Regions from separate parts of the Homo sapiens genome. Here regions 1, 2, 3 and 4 are each linked to region 5. The links are contacts of gene promoters, found by promoter capture Hi-C in blood cells and fetal thymus (Javierre and others, 2016). All regions are on one chromosome and are shown on one strand. Each heading gives the region's core, a stretch centred on a gene start or on the middle of the fragment in contact. The rest is flanking DNA. Distances are from core to core; before and after follow the strand shown. Region 1 overlaps RAB14 (RAB14, member RAS oncogene family). Region 2 overlaps C5 (complement C5). Region 3 overlaps CNTRL (centriolin). Region 4 holds the start of C5-OT1 (C5 3' UTR overlapping transcript 1). Region 5 holds the start of CNTRL (centriolin).

Region 1 (2,700 bases), core at 126-2,625, 110 kb before region 5:
AATATTTAAGTTTTTTTTCTATAATTATATGGCAGTCACAAATTTAAACTTTTATTTTTGCAGAAGAAGTACATATAACCACTTAAGCAGCTGGTTGACAGATGCAAGGAATCTCACCAATCCAAATACTGTAAGTTAAATGGCATCTTATTACACAGAAAATTTAAGAACTAAGCTAACCCAAAAAGGGAAGCCATTTACTGGTGAGATTTTTGTCTTCAGGTACTAAGAATGAGAGAATTTTTATTGTATTCTTCAATTAGTTGAAGAAAACCTAACAGTTATTTTTCAGTTCTTATTAAACCAGGTTTTGCATTTTATTATACCTAGGTTTTTTGTTCATGTTTGTCATTACTATTATGAATGTAGTGGTGATCTCATGTGAAGACTATGAAATCTGAAATTATGATTTTAAAAGGGATCTGCATTAATTTCATAAAACTTTAGCATTGGAGGATACTGGGCAAAACGTAGAAGAGATCTTTCTGTACTGTTTTTTACAACTGCATGTGAATCTGCGTTACCTCAATAAAAATTTCAACTACAGGAGGAGAATTAAGGATAAAAATTTCAGTCAAAAATAAAAAGGATTCTATATGTGTTAAAACATTAGCTTCTTAACCAGACTGAGATGATATTTATTGAGATTTTAAAGGCTAGCCACCATGCTAGACTCTGCAGTATACAAAGATAAACATGGATCCTTGGTCCCAAAGAGCTTATAGTCTAGCAGGGAGAGAACCAGCAGATATGCAGATAACTGTGCTGCAAAGTAGATTGAAGCACGAATTAGAAATAGAGGGACTGGCACAGTGCTGGAGAGCCTAGGATGATCAGTGCCGTCTGGAGAGAAAGCAGCTTTACAGAGGAGTGGTGTTTGAGCTGGTCCTTGAGGGGTGAGTGAAGTTTCAGTAGATATTGTTGAGGGTATGCCAGGAACAATGTGAGGAAAGACACACTGAGCTGTGACTTGAGTTTCTCAGGAACAAGGCTTGTGTCTCACTTGGCTTTATACCCCCAACATTTGGTAGAGGCCTCCTTCAAGAACTGTGTTATCAGTGGTAAGATGAGCTTTTATCAGGAAATGGTGGTTTAATCATATTGAGAGTCAGTTAACATTGTTTGCCTATCATGCTAGGGACTGTGCCTGAAACTTTCATTTCCATTATCGCATTAAACCCAAGGTTTACATACACACCTATAGATGGGTGTTCATAGCAGCTTTATTTCCAGTAGCCCAGAACTGGAAACCTAGGTGTTTCCCAACCTGGCCATTGACAGGTGAATGGTTAAACAGTTCGGAACATCTCTATAGTGGAGTACTACTAAGCCGTACGTAGGAATGAATTCTTTATATATGCAGCAGTTGAGCTGGTTCTCAAGGGCATCATACCCAGTAAAAAAGCCAATCTCAAAAGTTTACATACTGTATGATTTCATTTAGAAAACATTCTCAAAATGACAAAATTGTAGAGATGGGGAGTAGATTAGTGATTGCCAGGGATTAGCAAAGGGGGTGGAGGGTGGTAGTGGTGTGATGACATAGAGGGCAGCACAGAAGCAGTTTCTTTGTAGTGATAGAACAGTTCTGTATCCTGATAGTGATGATGGAGATCTGCACCTGAGATAAAATTACATAGAACCACCCATGCACGAACGCACATGTGCCTGAGAATGTGTAAAAACTGAAATCTGAATAAGGGCTGCAGATTGTACCAATGTCAGTTTCCTGGTTTTGAGAGTGTATTATAGTTACATAACATCCTACCATTAGGGAAGTTTGGTGAAGGGTACACAGGACCTCACTGTTATTTTTTGTAAGTCTCTGTGACTCTATAGCTATTTCAAGTAAAATATTAAAAACAAAACTCATTGTAGAGGGCCCGTGGAGGAGTATAATAAAATTAACCTTACCGCCCTGTGTCCTTCCTGCCTCATTTATGTGCTTTGAAATAGAACCAGATCAGGAGAAAAAAAATTTCTTGAGTTTTTCTTAAGTGCTCCATTTTCTATAGAATTGCCCTTGATTTCTGTGTAGAAGTTGTGTTCTCTACCATTTTGTTGTGGGCATGTTTTGTATCTCTGTAATTAGCATGCCACTTTATGTCTTCCCTTTCAGGGAGATAAGAAGCCTTATTTGGAGATTCATAGGGAATCAGGAGCAGGGCAGTATTTCTTGTTTTGAGTACCTATCTTGTAATGGCCCTATGCTAGTCATTGTGGCTTTACCAGACTTGATTTTTTATAAATTGATTTCCTTTTTAAGTATCATTATTTTATTCTTTTAAAATACTAATGGATAGTATATGAAAGTTTCTTCCCCTTCACAGTGGGCACTTTGTCCACACTGTTTAAAGAATGCTCACTTTTGTTGTACTACTTAACTGTCCTTGCATGAGGTTTACATTCAGATAAAAATGATTATTTGGTTTATGGACACACATTTTTGAAAGTGGAAGAGCCAGGAGCTGTAATTTTACATGAAAAAAAGTTAATGGCTGAAGTGCCTTTTAGTTGAAACCATCCATTCCTAAAGTGTTCATATCTAGATTACCATATCTGTTTGGAAGGGGGAAAAAGGGAAGGATTTTACCAGTTGGTGTCAAATAAGCTCATAAATGTACAAAGACAGTTTATCCATAACCCCCCTCCCCACCCCAGGTAAAGGCCAAAGCCCTTTGCTGTTTCCCAAGGGTACAT
Region 2 (2,700 bases), core at 68-2,567, 110 kb after region 5:
TACAAACGCATAGTAGCATGTGCCAGGTGAGCCTATTTCCACAAAGGGGAGCATAGACTCCAAGTTCTCATTTTTGTTAACGTATTGTTTCTTTACATATTTTCAAATTTTGGTATGTCCAGAAGATACAAAATTGTTCAATTGTTTAAAAATGCAGAACATATATATTCTTAAATTGCTACTTACCATAAAAAACAGCCTTGGTTTTGCTCATAATAGTTTTCTCTGTCTGTTTTGTCTTCTGATTCAAACAGTGTAATATTAATTTTTTCTCTTTCAGAGGGATAGAAATGTGATTTAAAAAATTAGGAAAAAAATATAAAAGATTCTCTCAAAAACAGCCCCTACTCTCTTACTTAGAAAAATCACATTTACCTAACAAAATCCATTATCAGCTAGATTCTCAACTCAAGCTGCACATTGAAGTCAGCTGGAGAGCTCTTAGAGCTGTCCAAATGTCCCGGGCTCCAGAGGTCATTCTAATGGTAGCCAGGGTTGAGAACCACTGATGTTAAACCCTCTCCCAACTAAATACCGAGGCCTCAATTGGCCACTGTATTAGTTTCCTGTTATTGCTAGGTAACAATTTATTGCAAATGTAATGGTTTAAACCAACACAGTTTTACTATCTTGCAATTCTAGAGGTGAGAAGTCCCAAAATCAAGGAGCTGGGTAGGGCTGTATTCCTTCTGGAAGCTCTAGAATTTCTTTGCCTATTCCAGATTCTAGAGGCTACCTGTGTTCTTTGGCTTGTGGCCCCTCTCTGTCTTCAATACCAGTGTCACAGCATCTTCCAATCTGACTGTGACCTCTGCTTCCATCATCACACCTCCTTCTCTGACTCTCCTGCTTCCTTTCCTCATAAAGATTCTTGTCTTTACATTAGGCCTGCACAAATAACCCCCTATCTCAAATCCTTAATTTAATCACATCTGTAAAGTTCTCTTTGCCACATAAGGTAACATATTCACAGGTTCAGGGGATTAGGACATGGACACCCTTGGGGGCCATTATTCTGCTTACCACAGCCACCATCCTAAAACATTTATGAAAGTGTAGGTTTTTTGCCGGGTACAGTGGCTCATACTGTAATCCCAACACTTTGGGAGGCCAAGGAGAGAGAATTGCTTGAGCCCAGGAGTTCAAGAACAGCCTGGGCACCATAGCCAGACCCCATCTCTACAGCAAATTTTAAAAATTAGCCAGACATGGTGGCACACACTTGTAGTCCCAGCTACTCAGGAGGCTGAGGCAGGAGGATTGCTTGAGCCCAGGAGGTTGAGGCTGCAGTGAGCTGTGACCACGCCACTGCACTCCAACCTGGACGAAAAATTGAGACCTTGTCTCCAAATAAAAAAAAAAAGAAAAAGAAAAGAATATGTAGGTATTTGAAAATATGTATATACTTTTGGCTTTGGTGATCACACAGTGTGATCAGAGAGTGGTAGAGCCAGGACTGAAACACAGACTTCTTCCCTGTTCTTTCCATCGTCCCTCAGTCCTTTCTATTGTGTTCTATTTTCTTAACTCTTGTATTGTCAATAACAGTGATATCTGTGGATGGCATTTTGCTGATTTTACTTATAATCATGCACCCAGTGTGGATAACTTGGAAATTCAATAGTGTTGTGCAAAAGATGAGAGCTGAGAAGGACCTTAGGGATGATATCATAATCCTCTTGTTTTGGAAATGAAGAAACTAAGACCCAAAGAGATAAAGTCGCCTGCCAAATGCTCACAGAGTTAGAGGCAGAGCTAGGGGCTCAAATCCCCAACCTCTGATGTTCAATCCAGTATCTAAACCACATCTTTTTTTTTTTTTTTTTTGAGATGGAGTTTCACTCTGTCTCCCAGGCTGGAGTGCAGTGGCGTGATCTCGGCTCACTACAACCTCCACCTCCCAGGTTCAGGTGATTCTCCTTCCTCAGCCTCCCGAGTAGCTGGGATTACAGGCACATGCCACCATGCCTGGCTAATTTTTTTATTTTTAGTAGAGATGGGGTTTCAGCATGTTGGCCAGGCTGGTCTTGAACTCCTAACCTCAGCTGGTCTGCCCACCTTAGCCTCCCAAAGTGCTGGGATTACAAGCCTGAGCCACCACGCTCAGCCTAAACCACCTCTTTCAATCAGTGTAATCTAAGACCACTAATCCCAAGGAACAGCACATAGTTTCTCCCTGCCTCCCTCCCAGCTGTTTCCCAGTCTTCTCTATGTCCCAAGCCCAATCGCTTCTTAGGATTCCTTCACTATTCAGCCCTATTTCCTTCCTCATCAGCATTTCTTCCTTCCAGCATTTCCTACTTCCTTCTGTGGCCAGTCCCTGCTCTCTGTTCCCGCTCAAACATCTTTCCTCATTCCCTAATGTCTTTCCAGTAAGGTCGCCCTTTCCCAGGCAGCTTCTTTCCCCCTAAATGCCATTCCTACCCTTGGGCACCTACCAGCTGGGGAGGAGCATGATCACAATTACCTTTAAATTTGTAACAGTTGTCAAAGGGAAGTGTAAGCAAACTTCTGGGCAGAGCTCGAATCAGTGCCTGGGACCCTACAGGGAGGCATCTAGACTTGCAATAAAGAAGAGCTCTCTGATAGGGTGAGACACCTGTGGGATAGCCTCTACCAGTAAGAACTCCAGTGACCTTCAGGAAATCAGTTTACTTCTCCAATCCTCTTCTATAAAGCAAAGATATTGCACTACCTTAT
Region 3 (2,700 bases), core at 120-2,619, 91 kb before region 5:
TCTCAGCCTCTCGAGTAGCTGGGACTACAGGCACATGCCACCATACCCAGCTAATTTTTTGTCTTTTTCGTAGAGACGGGGTTTCACCATGTTGGCCAGGCTGATCTCGAACTCCTGGGCTCAAGTGATCCACCTGCCTTGGCCTCCCAAAGTGCTGGGATGGCCTGTGTCTAATGTTAACTTTTTTTTTTTTTGAGACAGAGCTTCACTCTTGTTGCCCAGGCTGGAGTACAATGGTGCAATCTCAGCTCACGGCAACCTCCGCCTCTCGGGTTCAAGCGATTCTCCTGCCTCAGCCTCCCGAGTAGCTGGGATTACAGGCATGTGCCACCACGCCTGGCTAATTTTGTATTTTTAGTAGAGATGGGGTTTCTCCATGTTGGTCAGGCTGGTCTTGAACTCCCGACTTCAGGTGATCTGCCCGCCTTGGCCTCCCAAAGTGCTGGGATTACAGGTGTGAGCCACTGCACCTGGCATAACTCTTAATTTACATAATAGAAACTGAAGTCTAGAACTTGTTTGAAGTGCTTTGAATTACAGCACTAGTCTCACAGGACAACACTGAATTACCTTTAAGAAAATCATTAGAAGTATGAGGGTCAAAAATCTGCTATATTCAATATCTGACAAGATAGAGGCCCAGATTTGGCGGGTACTCTATGGCTCAAGGAGTAATCAAATCTAAGCCCAGCCTTTAGAGGCCTCATCTGTGTCATGGATGAGAGATGGCCCATCTGGTCCCTGAAACCCCAAGAAGGGCTGCTGAGAGACTGCTGCTGGGCTCTGGTCTAGCCACCACCCTACTTACTAGCTTTGAGTAAAACTGTTTGTATCAAGAGTTCTAAGGCTAAAATAAATTAGCAAACCACTGCTCTCCATCAAAACTTTTATTTATGTGATGGTTATGTTACATAAATGGCCCTACGGTATCTGCTGTTGTGAAGAGGAACCAGCCTACTTGATTTCTTTGTTATTTAAACCAATGGTCTGCATACCCTCAGTATACTACTAGAATATTACATTTGTTAACCTTACCTGTTTTGCTAGGTTCAAATGGTCTTGGACATTAGCTAGTTCCTCCTGCAGTGAGTTTACTGCTTCTCGTTTTTCTAAAGAAATGACATTCTCATGAAATAAGAAATACATACGTATTTACTGTACAGATTCCCATTAGCATTCCCAAAAAGTAGAGAAGTTGTTTTAAGCTTACTCCTGTTACATGTATGACTATGCCACACTATCTCATTAAAGGCCAAAAGAGAGTTACATGCACAATCCAGATTTGGGCTTGGAGCTCAGGTTTTTAAAGATTTTCATGTTCAAAATCTCACAACGAAAAAATTACAGATAATACTTAATGTTAGGTGTTTAAAAACAGCTACCTTCTGCATTGCTGGTAGAAATAGAAACTTAACCTTTCAGGAAGGCAATTTGGGAATAAATTTTTTATCTATATTGGCTTTGTCAATTACTAGCTGTGTGACCTCTAGCAAGTCACTTCTCATTTAAGCAGTCACAAGAAAACTAAGCTTCAGTTTCCTTATTTACAAATGAGTAAAATAATTTTTATCTCATAAAAATGTTATGAGGATTAAGTGAGAAAATGAAATACCAAGGATATAAAAAATGTTCAACAAGTATATTATTAGCTAGAATTACTCAGCAATTTCTTCTAAATAAATTATCATATTTATAAACATTTGGTAATTTTAAAATCTTCATTATTTACATCTTTGTTTTTGTTTTTCAAACTAGACACACCCCTAGGAAAAATCTGGAAGGATATTCACCAAACTGTTACTAGGAATCTATGAGGAGTGAGGTCAACAGCAATTTTTATTTCTTTTTGCTGTTTTAAAATTGTTCTCTAAGGAACATGAATTAGGTTTTTTTTTTTAACTGACTTTATTGAGATAAAATTCACATATCATGTCCTATTTAAAGTGTACAATTCAAAGGCTTTTAGTATATTCCAAGTTGTGCAAACATTACCACAATCTAATTTTAGAAAGAAACACCATGCTCATTAGCAGGAATTACTTGTCGTAAGAAAAATCAAAGAATCTAACGAAGGGCAAGGAAATCACACACTTTCACTGTTTTGCTGCCTTATACCTTGGAGCTGCTGTTGCATTGCTGAAATGTCGTTATGCAGTGACAACTTGTCTCTGTTTAGTTGGTCTAGTTCCTGCTGCAGTTTTCTGACATTCAATTCCAACTTTTCTAAGTTTGATTGCTCCATTTTGCTATTTTCTTCTGCTGCTGCTAAAACCCTACCACAGAGAGTAAGTCAGACTGTCAAATATACAAGCACACACAGGAGATGACTGAGGAACAGTGTTATCCTTTCACAACATACAGTTATGGAAAGTATAAATGATTATAAATCTTCACAAAATTTAAGACTCAACTCATTTTCAGAATCTTATTATCAGCTTTCTAAGTGGAGACTTTTTTCAAAAACTGACTCACTAAATTGAAGTTTTATAAAAATCATGGATTAAAAACATGGATAACATTCAGAATTCCAAAAATCTGATAAAAATGGAGCTGTGACAATCGAAAGAGTAGAAAACAATTGTGTGTACAGTAGGATCTGTCCATATAGCAGACATGCATGAGCATGTATTGTAGTACATAAAGGGAGTCATACAGTTTGGACTTGCTTTTGGTCTGGCTTCTTTCACTCAACGTAGTTAC
Region 4 (2,700 bases), core at 32-2,531, 120 kb after region 5:
CAGCATGGGCGACTGAGCAAGACTCCGTCTCAAAAAAAAATAAAGAAATCAAATTCAGCTTTTCTGTTTTGTGGCCACCTCACAAACACTTTGTTTCTTGGTAGGTACATCTACCCTTTAGATTCCTTGACCTGGATTGAATACTGGCCTAGAGACACAACATGTTCATCGTGTCAAGCATTTTTAGCTAATTTAGATGAATTTGCCGAAGATATCTTTTTAAATGGATGCTAAAATTCCTGAAGTTCAGCTGCATACAGTTTGCACTTATGGACTCCTGTTGTTGAAGTTCGTTTTTTTGTTTTCTTCTTTTTTTAAACATTCATAGCTGGTCTTATTTGTAAAGCTCACTTTACTTAGAATTAGTGGCACTTGCTTTTATTAGAGAATGATTTCAAATGCTGTAACTTTCTGAAATAACATGGCCTTGGAGGGCATGAAGACAGATACTCCTCCAAGGTTATTGGACACCGGAAACAATAAATTGGAACACCTCCTCAAACCTACCACTCAGGAATGTTTGCTGGGGCCGAAAGAACAGTCCATTGAAAGGGAGTATTACAAAAACATGGCCTTTGCTTGAAAGAAAATACCAAGGAACAGGAAACTGATCATTAAAGCCTGAGTTTGCTTTCAAACTGTGCTAAAAAGCCTGTTATTTTATGCTAGATCAGCTTCAACCACACAAAGACAGGCAAATTGAGAGAGATGGAGAAAGTCAGCAGTAGAGAACCTTAACCTTGAGCGGGCTTAGCCTCAGAGCCCTCAGCGCACTGAGAAGGTAGGTGGGTTTGTCCCTGCCCCCTCCCCGTCCATTGCCCTCTCCATACCCCTGAAGGGAGACCCTCTACTCTCTTTCCCTCCCTTCCGGCACATGTTCATTTCCCCCAGGAACCTGCTCTCGCCAACAATTGCTTTACTAAAAGACAGGCCCCAGTGCAGCAACCTGGTGAAAAGAAACTGAGTGGCGGATCGGGAGACCTTTCTCCAGCCCTAACCAGGTCTCTCTCTGAGCCTCAATTTGAGCTTTATAAAAGAGGATACATAACAGAAGTTAATTTTTAAGTGACATTTTGCAGCACTTCAGATCATATTAAAAAGCTCTCGCATATATTCTCATTTAATGTCTCAAGCCTCTCACAAGATTCAGAAATTATTATCATTATCATCCCCATCTTACAGATAAGAAAATTGAGATTTAGGCCTGGCATGGTGGCTCAAGCCTGTAATCCCAGCACTTTGGGAGGCCAAGGCGGGCAGATCACTTGAGGTCAGGAGTTCGAGACCAGCCTGGCCAACATAGTGAAACCCCATCTCTACTAAAAATATAAAAATTAGCCAGGCTAATTTAGCAAGCCTGTAATCCCAGGTACTCAGTAGGCTGAGGCAGGAGGATCACTTGAACCCAGGAAGTGGACGTTGCAGTGAGCCGAGATCATGCCACTGCATTCCAGCCTAGGTGACAGAGTGAGACTCCATCTCAAAAAAGAAAAAAGAAAAAGAAAAGAAAATTGAGGTTCAGAAAAGTAAAGCAGTTTTCCCAACCTAGTAAGGAAAAGAATTGGAAATCAAACCCCAAGACTCTATCTCAGTTTAAATACATCTCTGTTCCACATCACTACATATTGCTTGTTGGGTTGAATTTTCTAACAGTAAGGCAGGATATAGTAGAAGTTTCTTAGACACAGATTAACCAGCCCCACTGAACTATCACAGGAAACATGAAGATGACCTCCGGATGTAACGGTAATTAACAGAGACTGGAATGCATCTCCTTTTGAAGAGTCTGCTTTTTACTAGTTAGGTGAAGCTACACAAGGCCTTGTAGTGTGCCTTTGTAAATAACACTAAGATTTTCCACTTCCAGGGACTAAGGACTTATTTTTCTCTAATGTCAAAGCTCACATTGTAGGCACTCCCTTGGCAAAAACAACCAATGTGTCATGTTCAAGATGCCCACACTCCCTGTCAGCGAGGGGTGAGGAGACCTTCTCCAGAGCAGGCCTCTCGGTGTCTCCTGTCACTTCCTTGCTGGGAGGAGGGAACCACTGGTGCTGCTTCGAAGGCACAGGAGTCTGACTGCCTTTTCCTGAGCACTTTGGCAAATAGGGCAGGCCACAGTGGCCTAATTAACCCACAATGCAGCTGTCAAATATCAAAGAAGGTTTTGTGAATTAGCCTGGCACCATTTAAAATATCTGCCAGCTCCTCTTCAGCTAACTCCTATGCATTTGAACATATTTTCTCAGTGAGGCTTTTGTGACCCTCCAAACCAGGCTGGGCCCATTACCCAACCCTGCACTTCTCCTCCAAGGCACTTGTGCTCTTGCAATGATTTACTTAATCAGATTGAATTATTAGTTTAGCGTGACCACACTGAAAGCTCCACTTAGGTAAGGTCTGAGTCTGTTCTATTCGCCAGTATCTCCTGTAGTTGGCACAATGTCGGGCACATCATAGGGACTCAATAAGTGTTTGTGGATTCCCCTACAGTGTAGAGAATCAGAAGACCCAAGTTCTAGTCTTGGCTTTGGCCCTAATTGGCAGTGATTTGGGACAAGCCTCTTAATCTCTTTGATAGCCTATAAAATAAGGGAATTGGACACTCTAATGTCTCTTTTATCTATAGCTAAGAAGATGTTCTATAATCTTATGATGTGAAACAGGAAAAACCAAACGGCATATAAGCATCCAAATATT
Region 5 (2,700 bases), core at 59-2,558:
TGTAGGAAGAACCATGCTAGAATCTAAGCTCAAGATGCAGAAGATTTTATCTCCCTATTACCCATGATCTCTGCACCAAGCAGTCTCCTTCATAGCATTTTATAACCATTATTTGTGAAACTACTTGGTTGTTGCCTGTTTCTCCTTCTAGACTATAAGCTACAAGAGAGCAGAGGTTTTGTCTGTTGTTCTATAAACAATAAATATTTGTTGACTGAAGGACTGTACTAAACACTTAGACAATACCAAATTTAAATCCTCAAAGATTTAGCTGTATAGGATCAGAATTATTAACCTGATTTACAAATGGCAATGTACCTGAACAGTTAAAAGCTTGGATTCTGGAACGAAACAGCCTGAGTTCAAATTCTGATTTTCCACTTACTGTGTGATCTTAGGCAAATTACTTAACCTCTCTGGTCCTCAGTGCTATCACTTTTTAAATGGGGATGATAACCTCATACAAGTTATTTTAAATTCTAAATGAGGTTAATACGTGCAAAGTGCTTAAAACTGGATCTGACAAATAGTGAACACCCAAAAATGATTCGCAATTATTTGGACAAATGAGGAAACATGATCAGGAAGGCTCAGACACATATCCAGGGTCACAGACCTGGTTAAGTTACACAAGGTGGCAGAATTGAGGCTTCAACCCAAGTTTGTCTGGCTTCAAAATTCTCTAGTCCCTTAACGAATATAACGGAAGTGTTTGTTCTTCCCCTTCTTTTAGCATTTCGTCCCCATATCCTGTCATCTTTCTCCACGCACTGTACTCCGTCCGATACCGTGACAACCCGTCAGGACGCCCAAACTGTCCTTTCTCCCGCTCACTCCCCACAGACAGCTGGCACATCCCAGCTCTCCCCTCAGCTCAGGTGGCAGGACCCACAACCTTCTGGGCGCCGCACCCTAACTTCCACACCTCCCCACACTCTGGTTCTTCATCCCCAATCGCCCCCGCCGTCCCCACCTCTTCCCATCCAAACCTCCCTCCTTCATCCACCGCCCCACGCCCGTTCCGGGCCCTCCCCTCTTTCCCGTCCAATCCCAATTCCCAGACACGCGCCCCCGCCCCGAATCCATCCCAAGCCGGCCCACACCACGCCCGGTCCGGGCCTTCCCGCCTTTGCCGCCGGCCCCCACTGCTCGGGCCGGATGCCGGGGAACGGGCTCGGCCAGGTCTGACGCTCACCGCCTAGAAGCCGAGCCGAGCAGTCCCGCAGGCTGAGGTAGAGCGGGAGAAGTTCGGGCTCTTTCCTCAGGGGCCCAGCGGCGCGGCAGCCATTTTGTTGTGTTGTGCCGGTTGCCGAGGGGCCGCGCGCGCGTGGTCGGGGCTAGTCTCAGCCACGCCCCTCTCCCTCTCCGGTACTGTTGGAAGGGACGCGGAGGCGTTTCCCGCCTCTTTTGCAGCCAGCGCGCTAGGATGCCGGGGAGTCTTGGGCGCGAGGCTTCCGGCCGCGCGGGGCCGACGGGATGCGGTGCCTTCGCCTTCGGATTGCGTTGCAGGTGAAGTGTCGGGTGCAGAGTCAGGGGGAGCCGAGGTTTCATGCGGCAGCTGCCCGCAGTGCTGTGGCCTTCGCTGAGACAAAGCTGCCGCCGCCACCCTCTGAAACACGGACACGCTTCTCAGGGCCTGTGTCCGAGGACGGCCTGAGGCACCGGCGCAGCGCCTCCCCGGCCTCCCCCACTTCTGATGCTTGCGCGCTATGAGCGAGTGTTCTTATCAGCACACTTCTCTCTGACAGTCGTATCTAAAGCGAATTCCCTCCAGGGACCGAACTGCCCAGGCTCGGATGAACCTCAAAGCGGACGCAGCCTGGGCTCCAGCTGTCGCGTGAGGTTCAGGGAGCTTGGGAATCCTAGGCAGAGGATGTTCCTCTGATTGCTACAAGGGAGTTAAAGCAAGAAGCACTTGCACAGGCTTCATCTGGGGCTTGCCCATGAGCACGGCGTTCACGACATGCATTCAACAGATATTTTAAAGAATTTAGCAGATACTGGGCTGGATGCTAGGGAAACACTGAAGTTTTTTTTAAAGTGTTATCACCATTGACGCCTTTCACTCCAGTAGCCTCCCGTTTTGAAGGTATACCCTGGACCATGTTACCATCAGAGGCTGCACCCGCTCCAGAAATCCCCAGTGCAATCGCTCCCCATCCTTGACTATAATCCTATCATCTTAGCAGCGTGCCTGCTCAAAAGACCCCTATGCCAGCGTATTTCTAAACTTCCTTGCGTCTTCCAGTCCCTTGTTCTTACCATTTTCTCGCGATCATTCTATCCTGTCTTCATTTCCTTTCTTCACTACAGAGTTTATAGGCCACCTGTATAACACTTTTAGAAACTCCCTCTCTCTCTGTGTCTCAGTTTCCTTATCTATGAAATGAGGTCCTTTTACCTATTAACACTTCCTACAGTTTTCCTGATAATTATAAAAGTGAATCCTGGCCGGGCGCTGTGGCTCATGCCTGTAATCCCAGCACTTTGGGAGACCAAGGTGGGAGGATCACTTGAGGTCAGGAATTCAAGATCAGCCTGGCCAACAAGGTGAAACGCCGTCTCTACTAAAAATACAAAAATTACCCGGGCGTGGTGGCGCACGCTTGTCATCCCAGCTGCTTGAGAGGCTGCAGGAGGATCGCTTGAACCCGGGAGGCGGAGGTTGCAGTGAGCCGAGATCGCGCCACTGCACTCCAG

What was found. Contacts are between HindIII fragments. The CHiCAGO score rates a contact against its expected background, and 5 or more counts as called.
Region 1: a fragment that was not itself captured here is called in contact with the fragment with the promoter of CNTRL in region 5 in 8 of 17 cell types (naive CD8 T cells, naive B cells, naive CD4 T cells and 5 more); the score reaches 9.2 in naive CD8 T cells.
Region 2: a fragment that was not itself captured here is called in contact with the fragment with the promoter of CNTRL in region 5 in 7 of 17 cell types (naive CD4 T cells, total CD4 T cells, activated CD4 T cells and 4 more); the score reaches 7.4 in naive CD4 T cells.
Region 3: a contact is called between a fragment that was not itself captured here and the fragment with the promoter of CNTRL in region 5, in 10 of 17 cell types (megakaryocytes, total B cells, naive CD4 T cells and 7 more). The highest score is 8.7, in megakaryocytes.
Region 4: a contact is called between a fragment that was not itself captured here and the fragment with the promoter of CNTRL in region 5, in 7 of 17 cell types (naive CD4 T cells, total CD4 T cells, activated CD4 T cells and 4 more). The highest score is 9.9, in naive CD4 T cells.

The regions. Positions count from the first base shown.
Region 1 is chr9:121,184,383-121,187,082 of GRCh38, reverse strand. It overlaps RAB14 (RAB14, member RAS oncogene family), which reads left to right. Exons shown (of 8, transcript NM_016322.4): 5 at 64-130. Among named protein-coding and RNA genes, the nearest start is that of RAB14, 16 kb to the left of the region's middle. The HindIII fragment of the contact is 6,237 bases long and covers 1-2,700 here.
Region 2 is chr9:120,966,387-120,969,086 of GRCh38, reverse strand. It overlaps C5 (complement C5), which reads left to right. Exons shown (of 41, transcript NM_001735.3): 33 at 1-26. Among named protein-coding and RNA genes, the nearest start is that of C5-OT1, 15 kb to the right of the region's middle. The HindIII fragment of the contact is 5,424 bases long and covers 1-2,700 here.
Region 3 is chr9:121,164,516-121,167,215 of GRCh38, reverse strand. It overlaps CNTRL (centriolin), which reads right to left. Exons shown (of 44, transcript NM_007018.6): 35 at 2,116-2,273; 36 at 1,036-1,109. Among named protein-coding and RNA genes, the nearest start is that of RAB14, 36 kb to the left of the region's middle. The HindIII fragment of the contact is 324 bases long and covers 1,208-1,531 here.
Region 4 is chr9:120,950,273-120,952,972 of GRCh38, reverse strand. It overlaps C5 (complement C5), which reads left to right. Exons shown (of 41, transcript NM_001735.3): 41 at 105-638. The coding sequence ends at 234. It overlaps C5-OT1 (C5 3' UTR overlapping transcript 1), which reads left to right and starts at 142. Exons shown (of 2, transcript NR_148450.1): 1 at 142-781. The HindIII fragment of the contact is 6,552 bases long and covers 1-2,700 here.
Region 5 is chr9:121,073,563-121,076,262 of GRCh38, reverse strand. CNTRL (centriolin) reads right to left here and starts at 1,308. Exons shown (of 44, transcript NM_007018.6): 1 at 1,196-1,308. It also overlaps a transcript of C5 not described here. RefSeq lists silencers at 904-1,043, 1,164-1,223, 1,848-2,044 and an enhancer at 1,344-1,733. The HindIII fragment of the contact is 4,047 bases long and covers 336-2,700 here.